Regions from separate parts of the Homo sapiens genome. Here all the other regions are linked to region 1. The links are contacts of gene promoters, found by promoter capture Hi-C in blood cells and fetal thymus (Javierre and others, 2016). All regions are on one chromosome and are shown on one strand. Each heading gives the region's core, a stretch centred on a gene start or on the middle of the fragment in contact. The rest is flanking DNA. Distances are from core to core; before and after follow the strand shown. Region 1 holds the start of MSH4 (mutS homolog 4). Region 2 has its middle 9.8 kb from the start of DNAJB4. Region 3 overlaps MIGA1 (mitoguardin 1). Region 4 overlaps MIGA1 (mitoguardin 1).

Region 1 (3,217 bases), core at 126-2,625:
CAGGCAGCAGTGGCTCATGCCTGTAATCCCAATGCTTGGGCAGACCGAGGCAGGAGCACTTGAGACCAGGAGTTTGAGACCAGCATGGGCAGCATAGCGAGACTCTGTTTCTAAAAATAAAGAAATTAAGAACATTAAATACAGCAGAAAGGTCACATGAGATGAACTGAAAAATGACCATTGGATTTGGTATTTGTTACTTTACCATTGTGTTGCAATCGTGTGTGAAAAATGGTGATGCTTTGTCATGAATAGAGACTAACAAAATAATAAATGATTTGAAGGACATGCATCTTTTTTGTTTGTTTGTTTTGAGTCAGGGTCTCACTGTGTCACCCAGGCTGAAATGCAGTGGCGCAATCTCAGCTCACGGCAGCCTCGACCTCCCGGACTCGCCATCCTCCCACCTCAACCTCCTGAGTAGCTGGGACCACAGTCACGTGCCACCACACCCAGATAATTTTTGTACTTTTAGTAGAGATAGGGGATGGGGGTGGGAGGTTCACCATGTTGGCCAGGCTGGTGTGGAACTCCCGGCCTCAAGTGATCCGCCCACCCTGGTTTCCCAAAGTGCTGGGATTACAGGCGTCAGCCACCGCCCAGCCCACTCTTTTAATACTAAACATATTATTTTCCCTGAATTAGATGAAATGTTCAATTTAATCTATTTTATCCCACCTTAGCAGGATTTGGAGAATTAAATTCAGCAGCCAAAGATCAGCTCACAACTTCTATCAGCAAACTCACGCACAAACTGTCATTTGTCAGACACTGTGAGGGACGTTATATGGGATACTTCAGCCTTTCTCAGAACTGAGCCATCCACAGTCAAGGTCTTGCAATAGAACCAATTTGAAAAGTCAAGGCTTCTAATCACCCAGACTCACCAAATTCCCAGGGCACTCAGATCTCACGCCCCAACCAAATCACAACTTCACTGTGGTAACCACCACCCACGTGCCCCCGAGCCTCCATGAACTGCCGGCCTCTAGCCTCAAGGAGACTCCTCCACCCAATCACTCCTTGCCTTGAGCTGGCCGGGAGTTTGGCGCGGGGCAGGGAAGGCTGCTGCTGCTGCTGCTCCGGTCGCCCGCAGCTCCTGACGTGCCAGGACAGGTGGATGCAGAGACCACCTGGACCGAAGGGCGGCTCTGTGGAGTCTCCTGGAGTCCGAAATTGTAGCGGGGACCCTGAGGTGAGCGGGTTTCTCCCGACGACGGGGAAACCGCCGGGGCAGAAGGCGAGGTTGATGAGATCTCAGGCCTCAGCATCCTCCCAAACCTTCCCTGACCCGAGAAGTATGAGGTTTCTGAGCGACCCCTCCAGTAGCCCAACTACAGAAGCTGCGCCGCTGAAACGGGCGGGAGAACTGCGCGCCGACGCACTAAGCTGCACTGCGCAGGCGCAGGCAGGCTCAGCTTTCCACATGGATTCACGTACTTCAGGTCTATGACCCTGCTTCCAGCCATTCCCAAACCCATCACTTTCCACATGAACCTCACTGGAACATCCTCAGCCTGCAGGTATCAGACTGACCAGAACTCTGCAAGGCCCATCAATGACCACCCGATTTGTTAGCCCCATTATTCTCACAGCACCCAATCTCCCTTATTGCAAATGTTACATGCATTTCCCACACGTCCAAGCACACTAGCTTATCTTTAAATGTAGAAACCACCCAACACAGTACACCCAGTGCCTTTGACACAATGAGAACGTGTAATGCTCACACAGCATAACCCACCTAAGGTTGATCTTGTGACCAAATATAGGAAAGATAGTTATATTATCAAAAGATAGTATGCACATGGCTGTGTGCATAGTAGAGTAGGAAACAGGGAAAGACTGACTGGGTAAGATCTCTCAGTTAACAATTCCCCATCTACCAATTTCTAGTACTGTGGTTTCTAACATATAAATCAGTTAATGGCACACTAGAAGTTCAAACTCCAGCTTTGCAGTGGTGACCTTTAGAAAATTCCTTAAATAAGGCCAATAGTACCAACTTACCAGAGATCCATGGATTAAACATGACGAAATTATCTGGATACTGCCATACAGAAGCTATTAGAAGACATTAATTTACACCACTACTGAAATCCTGCCACTGTTGAGTATCTCAATAAACCAGTTATGCACAGCGGTTTACCCACATGCAGTGACAACAGTCCTTAAGAACATCTCTGTTCTTGGAATGATTATTGCACAGGGCATTCCAAACATACTTGAGAAAAATCTCAATTTCCATCAAAAAACCTTATTTTCAGATCGGGCACGATGGCTCCTCCCTGTAATCCCAGTACTTTGGGAGACTGAGGCCAGAGGATTACTTCACCTCCGGAGACCAGCCTGGGGAAGACAGTGCCTGTCCCCAAAATTAAGAAATCAGCTGGGCATAGTGGGCATGGTGGCAGGTACCTGTAGACCCTGGTACTCAGGAGGCTGAGGTGGAAGGACTGCTTGAGCCCAGGAGTTTAAGGTTACAGTGAGCTGTGATTGCACTACTATGCCCCAGCCTGGGGAAGAAAGGAAGACCCTGTCTCTAAAAAATAAAATTTAAAAATAGAGAATACCTCACTTTCACCAAAACTGTAAACCCCTAGAGTGATTGTACTCATTTTAGGCCAGGCGTGGTGGCTCACGCCTGTAATCCCAGCACTTTGGGAGGCCGAGGTGGGTGGATCACAAGGTCAGGCTGGTCTCCAGCTCCTCAGCATGGTGAAACCCTGTCTGTACTAAAGTAACATAAAAATTAGCCGGGCATGGTGGTGTGCGGCTGTAGTCCCAGCTACTCGAGAGGCTGCGGCTGAATTGCTTAAACCCGGCAGACGGAGGTTGCAGTTAAGCTGAGATCGTGCTGCTGCGCTCCAGCCTGGGCAACAGAGATTCTGTCACAAAAAAATAAAAAAGAGTGATTGTACCCATTTTAGCTTTTTAAGAAAAAGACAGGTGCAAAAAAATACTGTGGTGACCATCAACTTACCCGTTAGTGTTTCCTTATTTGAAGACAACTCCTTCTTTGGGTAATTCTGATATATAAAATGCTAAAAAAAAAAAAAAAAAAAAAAAAAAAAAGGACAGTCCGAATCACAACCCCATTTTAAGATGGTAGATTGCCATTTAACCTAAGTCTGTGACCAATTCAGAATAACCATATTCAAACCTATCAATCATTTCCAAATTTCAACAGCCATTTATTTTGTGCATCATTTAATTC
Region 2 (3,446 bases), core at 613-3,112, 2.2 Mb before region 1:
GCAAACTAACTTAAAATGGTTGGTAGGAAGAATAATTTTAGTCATAATTCTCTGTGGACTATTGTCTGTATCATCAAAATTTCCATTTTATCGCTACAGTAATATTAGTAATTCCCCAAGTTTTCAAATGTTGATACTGTGTCATGGCTTGGTTTTATAATACTTTCCCCGAAGCACTATAATATATACATTTAATTTTTTTGTCTAGTGGTCTTTAAAACAAGATTTTAAATTGTTTAAAAAATTAAAAAGTACCTACCTTTCAAAAAACAAGAAAATAAAATTGCTTTAAATGTATAGAAATTACTAGATTTGGAGACACCCAGGGGATCAGACATATTTTATACTTAAAAAAATAAATCAGCCAGGTGCAGTAGCTTACACCTGTAATCCCAGCACTTTAGAAGCACGAGGTGAGAGGATCACTTGAGCCCAGGAGTTTGAGACTAGCCTGGGTAACAAAGTGAGAATTCCATCCCTACAAAAAATTTACAAATCAGCCAGGCATGGTGGCATGTGCCTGTAGTCCCAGCTACTCAGGAGGCTCAGGCAGGGGGATGGCTTGGGTCCAGGAGGTCAAGGCTGCAGGTGAGCCGTGATCATGCCACTGTATTCAAACCTGAGTGACACAATAAGACCCTGTATCCAAAAAATATATATATCATTTCCTTTTTTGGGGAGTATAGAACTAACTTATTCTAACTGGGATGAATAAAATATTCAAGCAACAACTAGCCCTTCTTTGTTACCCTCTTTTACAATAAGTCCTTGAAAGCTTGCTAATGACTAGTGAATGTATGGCGAGCTAATATACTTTTCTGGCATTTTGAAATAATTTAAAGAGTTCTTTTTTTGTTTTGTTTTGTTTTTTGAGACAGAATCTCACTCTGTTGCCCAGGCTGGAGTGCAATGGCACAGTCTGGGCTCACTGTAACCTCCGCCTCCCGGGTTCAAGTGATTCTCCTATTTCAGCCTCCCAAGTAGCTGGGACTACAGGCATGTGCCACCACACCCAGCTAATTTAAAATAAAGTGTTCTTTACACTGATTTTAAACACTGAGTTAGGCCCAGGGTGATAGCTCACACTTGTAATCCCAGTACTTTAGGAAGCCAAGGCAAAAGGATCACTTGAGTCTAGGAGTTCAAGACCAGCTGAGCAACATAGTGAGACCTCGTATCTACAAAAAATAAAACAGATTAGCCAGATGTAGTGGCATGCACCTGTAGTCCTAGCTACTTGGGAGGCTGAGGCAGGAGGATCACTTGAGCCCAGGGAGATGAGGCTGCAATAAGCCATGATCACGACACCACTGCACTTCAAGCCTGGGCAACAGAGCAAGACTGTCTCAAAACCAAAAACACTGTATTAGCCAAAAAATTTTAAAAAGAGCTAGAGTTTCTACATCATTTTAAATGGGTCTTGATAAACTAATATTTCATTATAACATTTTGCCTGTGTTGAAAGATCACACTATTTAGACCAGTGCTGTCCAACAGAAATATAAAGCAAGCTACAAATGCAAGCCACATTTCCAGAAACCATATTTTTTTAAAGTAAAAACAAACGTGAAATTAATTTTAATAATGTATTTTATTTAACCTAGTAAATCCAAAATATTATCATTGCAGCATATAATCAAAATACAAATTATCAATGAAATACTTTACATTCTTTATTTTTTGTACTAAATATTTGAAATACAGCATGTATTTTACACTTTGACCTCAATTCAGATAGGTACATTTCAGTAGCTTAAGAGTCTCATGTGGCTAGTGGCTACTGTGTTGGACAGTGCAGATCTAGTGGTTCCTTCTAGTCGGCAGTACTATAATCCAATTTTTCAGAAATCTCAGCCTGTGAATCTCAGCCCAAGTATACCACACATACATACCTCTCACATGCACATTTAGGGTAAATAAAGTCTTAACAGGTGAACTCTATTTTACTTATAAAATAGTACTACATTGTTCATCCATATAAACAATATGATAATTTTTTTCAAAATAATACTTTACACTTAAGGTAGTAGGAATGTATTTACACATGCTCAGTTGACATACACTTTCACAATGTTTAATTGTAAAAGCAACACTTGGAAATGAGGAATCTACGTGATTTTCACTTTTATCTTTTCTAAAATGTCTCTTCTCATACTCTTTTCTTATATGTGGCCTGAGATGTCATCTTAATTGGCTCATTAGAAAAATGAGAGTAGTTAAAAAAAAAAAAAAAGAGAGAGAGTAGTTTAAGGAGTACACAGAAAAAAAATGTCTGTAGCCCAAGAGGAGGAGAGGATATGCAGCTGTTTCATTGAATTATTAGGCTCTTAGCCAAGACTGCAACAAACTGATTATTTAGCAAGTTTGTTTAGCTAATTGTTTACAATTCTCAAATAATTTTTTTCTTTTTTTTTTTTTTTTGAGACAGTCTTGCTCTGTCACCCAGGCTAGAGTGCAGTGGTTTCATTATGGCTCACTGCAGTCTCAGCCTCCGGGGCTCAAGTAGTCCTCCCAACTCAGCCTCCCAAATAGCTGGGACTACAGGCATGTGCCACCATGTCTAGCTATTTTTTCTTTTGTAGAGATAGGGTCTCCCTATTTTGCTTAGGCTAGTCTTGAACTCCTGGGCTCAAGCTATCTTCCCACCTCCGCCTCCCAAAGTGCTAGGATTACAGGTGTGAGCCATTGTGCCTGGCCTCTCAAATGATTTAATTTAAATCAGTACCAAACTTTAACTATGAATTAACTTTATCGTATACTGCATCCATTAAAACATAATCACGAAACCACTGCTACCATGGAGACTTAACTATGATTCGAAGACTTTAATAATGGCTACCAAATATAAGTATTAGAACATTTATATAAATAAGCCCGTATGTCCTATAGTATTTACCAACTACTATAAAATTCAGCCATTGACTACCTAATTCCAAATGCATAAGCTTGAACTATTATAATTGTCTAAAGAAGGATATTTAGAGAAAAATATATCTCTAAAATAAATTAACTGTAAATGGATGGGTTTTAATGTTCAAGTTATTAATATTTCAAAAATATAAACTTTTTGTTATCTAGGTCAAATCAGCATATCAAGCCAACCATTACTGAGACCCCACTGTGCTATACTGTTACATGTAACATGAAGGATAAAACAGTATAATACATAGTCCCTACCCTTAAGGAGTTTATACTATAAATAAGTCAGGCACGGTGGCTCATGCCTATATCCCAGCACCTTAGAAGGCCAAGGAGGGCGGATCAATTGAGGTCAGGAGTTCGAGACCAGCCTGGCCAACGTGGTGAAACCCTATCTCTACTAAAAATACAAAAAAATTAGCCAGATGTGGTGGCACACACTTGTAGTCCCAGCTACTTGGGAGGCTGAGGCAGGAGAATTGTTTAAACCCGGGAGGTGGAGGTTCAGTGAGCCAAGATTGTTCCAC
Region 3 (3,569 bases), core at 924-3,423, 2.0 Mb before region 1:
CCATCATTCTACTCTCTATCTCCATAAGTTCAATTGTTTTAATTTTTAGCTCCCACAAATAAGTGAAAACAAGAACATCTAATTTTGAAGCAATACTTCCACATCAACACTATTTTCACAGGACCCCATGAGACCACATCACTTATTCAAAGAAACCTAGAACCAAATTGACTAATAGTCAGCAAAAAGGTATTTTACTTGCCTAAAGAAAGCACATTCAGACGATTTCTTAAGAGTATTTCCATACTAAGAACTATAAGTATATGACACTTAAACTAATAGATCACAGAAGACATATAAACAAAAATTTTAAAAATTAATATTTTTTCTGTACTTACAGAGGCCAAACTCTGTGCAGAACCTGAATATTTACTGAAAAGTCCTCCATTAGCATAGTTACAAACTTGAGATCCTTTGTCTTTGGTAGAACTTAAAGATAATGTCAAATTCTGTCTGCTACTGGAACAACTTGAACCTATCAAATAAACATACTAATATTAAAAATATCAATAACGCCAATGATAAATTTCAGGTAAAAATTTCAGAGTTTATAATATATTCACCCAGAAAGCTTCTAATTTTAAAACATGCATCACTCACTTGTGTAAATTATTACATGTACATCATTATTAAAATCTAAATCTTTATATAATCTTATATAATCTTTTTTCAACACTGCTAAAATCTGCTTCTGAAATGAAGAATAGAATATTCACCTAATAAATTAGGATGGTATTTGAATGGTCTATTGTAACCAGTATAAAAATACTGGTGACTATGTTAAATTTACAATTTTGTTAAACTGTAAATTTAACAAAATACAGGCATTTCCTTTTCTGAATTACATCTAAACCTTACCCAAATCTCATTGCATTGAAATTAGTTATACTTCTGCCTCTTCTACTCATCTATCCATTCTTCTAAGACTGACATTAGTTTCTTGGTTTTTTTTTTTCCTTTTTTTGAGAAAAGATCTCACTCTGTCACCCTGGCTGGAGTGCAGTGGTGCAATCATGTCTCACTGCAGCACTGACGTCCTGGGTCAGGTGATCCTCCCACTTCAGCCTCCCGAGTAGCTGGGACTAGCTAGCTGTGCCACCACACCAAAAAAAACAATTTTTTTATTGTTATTTTTGTAAAGATGTGGTCCCACTATGTTGTCCAGGCTGGTTTAAACTACTGGGCTCAAGCCATCCTCCTGCTTTGGCCTCCCAAAGTGCTGGAATTATAGTAACGAGTCACCATGCTGCACAAGTTTTTCTTAATGCAGCAGTTAAGATGTTCCTGGATTCAAATCCCGGCACTTATAAATTATATGACCTTGGGCAAGTCACTTAGCTTTTGCATATCTCAGTTTTCTTTATGTAGAATATAGAAACAATAACAAGACTATAATCCTAATTCACAGGATTGCTGTAAGGTTAAATAAAGCACTGAATATATGGCACTTACCTGAGACCTAATAAAATCTCAGCAAGTGACAGCAATCATTACTGTTGCAATGTTCACTGCACTCAGTACGAAATAGTCACTCATTAATTGTATGCTGGACAGATGACTCACAAAAGCATATCACACACTCACTAAATAATAAAAAACTAAGAAACTCAGCATGTTTAAGGAATTATTTTTATTCATACGATATCTTTACCAAAAATTAAAGATCCTTTAAAAGACAGCAACTTACTTCTTGAACTCTACATACTAAGGAAAATAGACAAGGATACACAAAATAAGAAAAACACAAGCATCCTAAAGGGAACAATGGGGAAATGATTAAATAAATTGGGGTACATTCATACAAATTAACACTAGTTATATATTAAAAATGATAGCACAGAGGGATATTTATTGACCTGGAAAGACATTCTTCCACACTGTCAAATATCTTAAAAGCAGGTTACAAAATGTCTGATTACAATTTTACTTAAAATACATAAATAATTTACTTGTATATAACATTTTATGTCTCAATATGACATTTAAATACAAATATAAGTGGACTGATATACATGAAAGTATTATCAGTAGTTATTTCTGGGTACCAGAATGTCAAGTAATTTTAATTTTTTGTTTGCTTATCTACATTTTCTAATCTTTCTAAAATAAATCTGTACTACTTTTGAGTTAAATAATATATTAGGAAGAAAATTCTGGAGACTAAAAGACCAAAATCACTGTATTCCAGTTATGATTTACACACTTTTGTACACTTACTTCAACTATTTCCACATACCTTTGTCTGATGCTGCTCTTTTAGTGTATTCAAGTATGAGGTGCTCTGGTTCCCATGGTAATATTTTTCCTTTCTTCTTTCCACGTTTTCTTTTAAAGTGATGAGCCAGAAAAATTACAGATATAGCACTCACTGCAGTTACCACAAACAACTTTTTAGCCACCGGAGAAAATTTGATCTGGAAAAGATTCAGTTAAAATTGAAAAAAATCTCTTTAATTTGTTCACTTAAAAGAAGGACCTAATAACTAAACTTACTCTTAATCTAACCTATTTCTAAATACTATCAAGAGAATATCATTTCACTCTTTCAATGACAAGCTAGCCCAATTTGATTTTTTAAAAAATATCTTAAATGTTGTAATTTATTACTCACTACTCTGAAGATCTCAGGTAAACAATATTACCCCAAAGTCAATAGGAGCAGAAAATAATTCAACCCCGTTAATATTTTTTGAGCAATTAAGGATTAATTCACGCAACTGAATCTTCTGTCTGAATCACAGCAAGATTTTTTACAGGGATGATTAAACTGAGCTTTAAAAAAAACTATCTGGAAATCTGAGGAAATAGAAGCTAAATCCATTTCTAAATACTTTCTAAATAAGCCATTTTATTCACAAATTATTTAACAAATATTTCTTCAGAATCTTAAAGTACCAGGACTGTGTTATAAATTAAAATCTTACTGTAATTCTATTCTATGAGCACATAATAAGTGCCTACAACCAATCAGGAAGCACTATGTATACAGAGGTCACAGATCTTGCATTTTGCGTATACTCTTCTATTTCCCTCAAGCAGTGTGCTAAGAGTGGAGACAGATATATTGGCAAATAATTACAGCATAATGTGATAAATACAGTTATACAAGTACTAAGTTATATAAGTACTAACATCAGAGCAAGAAGCGATTAACTTTCTCTTGGGAGACAAACACTATTAAATACCTAAAAGCAAAGGAACTCTAAAATAAAGCTAAAGGCTTGGAATGTTGAGAGCTGGAAAGAATGTCACTTTCAACCCTCCAACAACAAAATAAAGTATTCTGACTCCATCAGAATACGGAGATCAGAGGGCAACCAATTGCCCCCTAAACTAACGAGACAGGCATTTGCAGAGAGGTAAGACATTAGCATTGGCTTACACGGACAAGACATAGCATGACGTTAGCAAGAAGAGGTCAGCAAGCATCGTTTCAAATCTGGTGGAGAAAGAATACACTGTTGAGAGGCTGGAGAGAGGTGCTGCAAATGTAGGTGAAATCCACACCTTTCTTGCATATCTTATCATCAAGAATCACCAGGCACTCGTAGAAAATACTGAAAGAGTCC
Region 4 (3,438 bases), core at 33-2,532, 2.0 Mb before region 1:
ATATAAAGCTACAGTAATTAAGACACTGTGAAACCAATGCAGGAAACAGATTAACAGAACAAAATAGAGAGCCCAGAAAAGACACACAGAAAGAGACCTGACATATGACGGTGGGGGGTGGGGGGGCTTTGCAAATCAGTCAGAAAAGAATATATTATTCAAAGAGAGGTGCTGAGGCAATTACCCATCCAAACATTAAAAACAAAACAATAAAATACATTTAAAAAAACTTCTACGGCCGGGCGCAGTGGGTCACGCCTGTAATCTCAGGACTTTGGGAGGCCGAGATGGGAGGATCACTTGAGATCAGGAGTTCAAGATCAGCCTGGCCAACATGGTGAAACCCCGTCTCTACTAAAAATACAAAAAAATTAGCTGGGCGTGGTGGCAGGTGCCTGTACTCCCAGCTACTAGGAAAGCTGAGGCACGAGAATCACTTGAACCTAGGAGGTGAAGGTTGCAGTGAGCTGAGATCGCGCCGCGGCACTCCAGCCTAGGTGACAGAACGAGACTCTGTCTCAAAACAAACAAACAAAACTTCTAGAAGATTTTTTAAGGGACAGGGTCTCACTCTGTTACCAAGGCTGAAGTGCAGTGGTGCCATCCTAGCTCACTACAGCTTCAAACTCCCAGGCTCAAAAGATCCTGCTATCTCAGCCTCCCAAGTAGCTGAGACAACAGGCATATACACGCATGCCACCACACCCAGCTAATTACTTTTATAAAATTAATTATTCTACTTATTTTTTTGTAGAGACAGGGTCTTACTACATTGCCCAGGCTGGTCTCAAACTCTTGGCCTCAAGCAATCCTCCCACCTTGGCCTCCCAAAGTGCTGGGATTACATGCATGAGCCACCATACCTGACCAACTTCTAGAAGAATAAAGACCTAAATATGAAAAACAAAGCTTTAACACTTTCCAAGGAAAATACAAAAGAATTATCTTTATCCCTCTAAACAATACATAGAAAGCACAAACCATATAGGAAAGAATGAAAAATGTGATGACATTAAAATTAAATATCTGGGACCAGGTACAATGGCTCATGCCTGTAATCCCAGCACTTTGGGAGGCTGAGGCAGGACGACCACTTGAGCCCAGGAGTTCGAGCCCAGCCTGTGAAATACAGGAAGACTCCCATGTCTACAAAAAATACAAAAAAAATTAGCTGGGTGGTGTGGCACATGCCTGTAGTCCCAGCTACTTGGAAGGCTGAGGTGGGAGGATCCCTTGAGCCCAATAGTTCAAGGCTATAGTAAGCTATGGTCACACCACTGCACTCCAGCCTGGGTGACAGAGTGAGACCCTGCTTCAAATTTTTAAAAAGAAAAAACAAAAAGACAAACAGACTTACTGGCAGTAGTACTTTATATATTTGAGGCTTAAAATAAAATACACATGAACCATACATTATATTTTCCTCATGTACTTAAAAAATTAGTTTTAAATTTCTACTTCACTAAAAATAAAGTTCTGTATTTAATAAGCTGAAATTATACCATTTACTTAAATTTATTGCAAAAAACCTTAATGATACCCATCTTGTCTATCCATCCAAATATCTATCATTCAGATATTACCTGCAGGGCCTCGTAAGCAGAAATGCACATGAGAATCACCTGCTGAACTAGGAAATACAAACCCAAAGCTTCATGTCCCAACCCCAAAGTTTCAATTTCAGTAGGTCTAGAGCAAAACCTATGAAGGTGATTCTGATAAACATCATAGAAGACCCACAGACCTACTACTATCTATACTACATTCAAACCAGTTTCAGACACTGAATAGAATTAAGTATGTCTTCTGCCCACAAGGAGTTTAAGGTTTAGCATAACACACTGGATATGTACATAAATAATTATAATGTATTGTCAAGAGTAATCAATGTCACAAAGGAAACCATTAAACCTCCCCACCCACCTTTATTTATTTATTTATTTATTTATAAGACAAAGTCTCACTCTGTTGCCCAGGCTGGAGTGCAGTGGCCCAATCTTGGTTCACTGCAGCCTCCTCCTCCTGGGTTCAAGCTATACTCCTACCTCAGCCTCCCAAGTAGCTGGGACCACAGATGCACACCACCACACCCAGCTAATTTTTGTATCCCACCTTCATATTTCATATAGGACTTCCACTCCAATCTCCAAGAAGCAGCTATTCTGGTTTTACATTTTAAGTTGCTCCCTTCACCTCTTCAATTGCTCCTCCCCATGGGAAGAGTAACTTGGCTAATGCTGAGAACCTGCATGCAATTAACCAGGTAGAGGAAAATAAGATAAAATTAATGTTCACTAGTTCTTGGTGTGTACTAGTTCACTCTCCTTCGCAGACTTTCTAGAGAAAGGTCAGGGTCTGCAAACCCATCCTCACTTTTGCTCTGGATCTCACTCCTTCTGAGCTGGACAAAGTGTTGGCAGAAATTGTAAGGCAGGCAGGGAATCTCTACGCAGCTGGCTGGGTAAGTATGTTGTTAATTTGCTCTGTATTCTCTTCTCCAGATAATTTTTTATTTTATTTTATTTTATTTTTTGAGACAGGGTCTCACTCTGTCACCCAAGCTGGAGTGCGGTGGTGTGATCATAGCTCACTGCGGCCTCGATTTCCAAGACTCAAGCAACCCTCCCCACTCAGCCTCCCAAGTAGCTGAGACTACAGGCGTGAGTCAACACACCCAGCTTCCAGAGAATTTTTTTGAGGGGAAAGGAAGAAGTTGTAAAAATCCTTAACACATTGTCCAATCTGGCTATTAAGAAAAAAAGTTTAGGTCAGGCGTGGTAGTCGGGAGGCTAAGACAGGAGAATCACTTGAACTCAGGAGGCAGTGAGCGGAGATCGTGCCACTGCACTCCAGCTGGGCCACAGAGCAAAACACCATCTCAAAAAAAAAAGGCTCTTTTTGGCCAGGTGCAGTGGCTCATGCCTGTAATTCCAGCACTTTGGGAGGCCCAGCTGAGTGGATCACCTGAGGTCAGGAGCTTGAGACCAGCCTGGCCAACATGGTGAAATCCCATTTCAGCTAAATATACAAAAAAATTAGCTGGGCGTGCTGGCGGGCGCTTTTAATCCCAGTTACTCGGGAGGCTGAGGCAGGAGAATCACTTGAACCCAGGAGGCAGAGGTTGCAGTGAGCCAAGAATGTGCCACTGCACTCCAGCCTGGGCAACAGAACAAGACTCCATCTCAGAAAAAAAAAAAGGCTCTTTTTGTGTTCTTAATTTATTCAGAATCCAGACCTGGCATGGTGGCTCATGTCTGTAATCCCAGCACTTTGGGATGCCAAGGAAGAAGGACTGCCTGAGCCCAGGAGCTCGAGACCAGCCTGGCAACATAGTGAGATCCTGTCTCTACAAAAAATTAAAAAATTAGCTAGTCATGGTAGTTCACGCCTGTAGTCCCAGGTACTCAGGAAGCTGAAATGGGAGAATCACTTGGACCC

The links. Contacts are between HindIII fragments. The CHiCAGO score rates a contact against its expected background, and 5 or more counts as called.
Region 2: a fragment that was not itself captured here is called in contact with the fragment with the promoter of MSH4 in region 1 in 5 of 17 cell types (total CD8 T cells, activated CD4 T cells, total CD4 T cells and 2 more); the score reaches 10.9 in total CD8 T cells.
Region 3: a contact is called between a fragment that was not itself captured here and the fragment with the promoter of MSH4 in region 1, in 7 of 17 cell types (total CD4 T cells, total CD8 T cells, naive CD4 T cells and 4 more). The highest score is 11.2, in total CD4 T cells.
Region 4: a contact is called between a fragment that was not itself captured here and the fragment with the promoter of MSH4 in region 1, in 1 of 17 cell types (activated CD4 T cells). The highest score is 5.3, in activated CD4 T cells.

The regions. Positions count from the first base shown.
Region 1 is chr1:75,795,040-75,798,256 of GRCh38, reverse strand. It overlaps MSH4 (mutS homolog 4), which reads right to left and starts at 1,375. Exons shown (of 20, transcript NM_002440.4): 1 at 1,028-1,375. The coding sequence starts at 1,271. It overlaps RABGGTB (Rab geranylgeranyltransferase subunit beta), which reads right to left. Exons shown (of 9, transcript NM_004582.4): 9 at 3,171-3,217. The HindIII fragment of the contact is 6,934 bases long and covers 1-3,217 here.
Region 2 is chr1:77,993,371-77,996,816 of GRCh38, reverse strand. It overlaps a transcript of DNAJB4 not described here. Among named protein-coding and RNA genes, the nearest start is that of DNAJB4, 9.8 kb to the left of the region's middle. The HindIII fragment of the contact is 2,170 bases long and covers 778-2,947 here.
Region 3 is chr1:77,800,176-77,803,744 of GRCh38, reverse strand. It overlaps MIGA1 (mitoguardin 1), which reads right to left. Exons shown (of 16, transcript NM_001416120.1): 3 at 2,237-2,414; 4 at 339-475. Among named protein-coding and RNA genes, the nearest start is that of MIGA1, 22 kb to the right of the region's middle. The HindIII fragment of the contact is 3,199 bases long and covers 574-3,569 here.
Region 4 is chr1:77,826,569-77,830,006 of GRCh38, reverse strand. All of the region lies in intron 7 of MIGA1 (mitoguardin 1), which reads right to left. Among named protein-coding and RNA genes, the nearest start is that of MIGA1, 49 kb to the right of the region's middle. The HindIII fragment of the contact is 742 bases long and covers 912-1,653 here.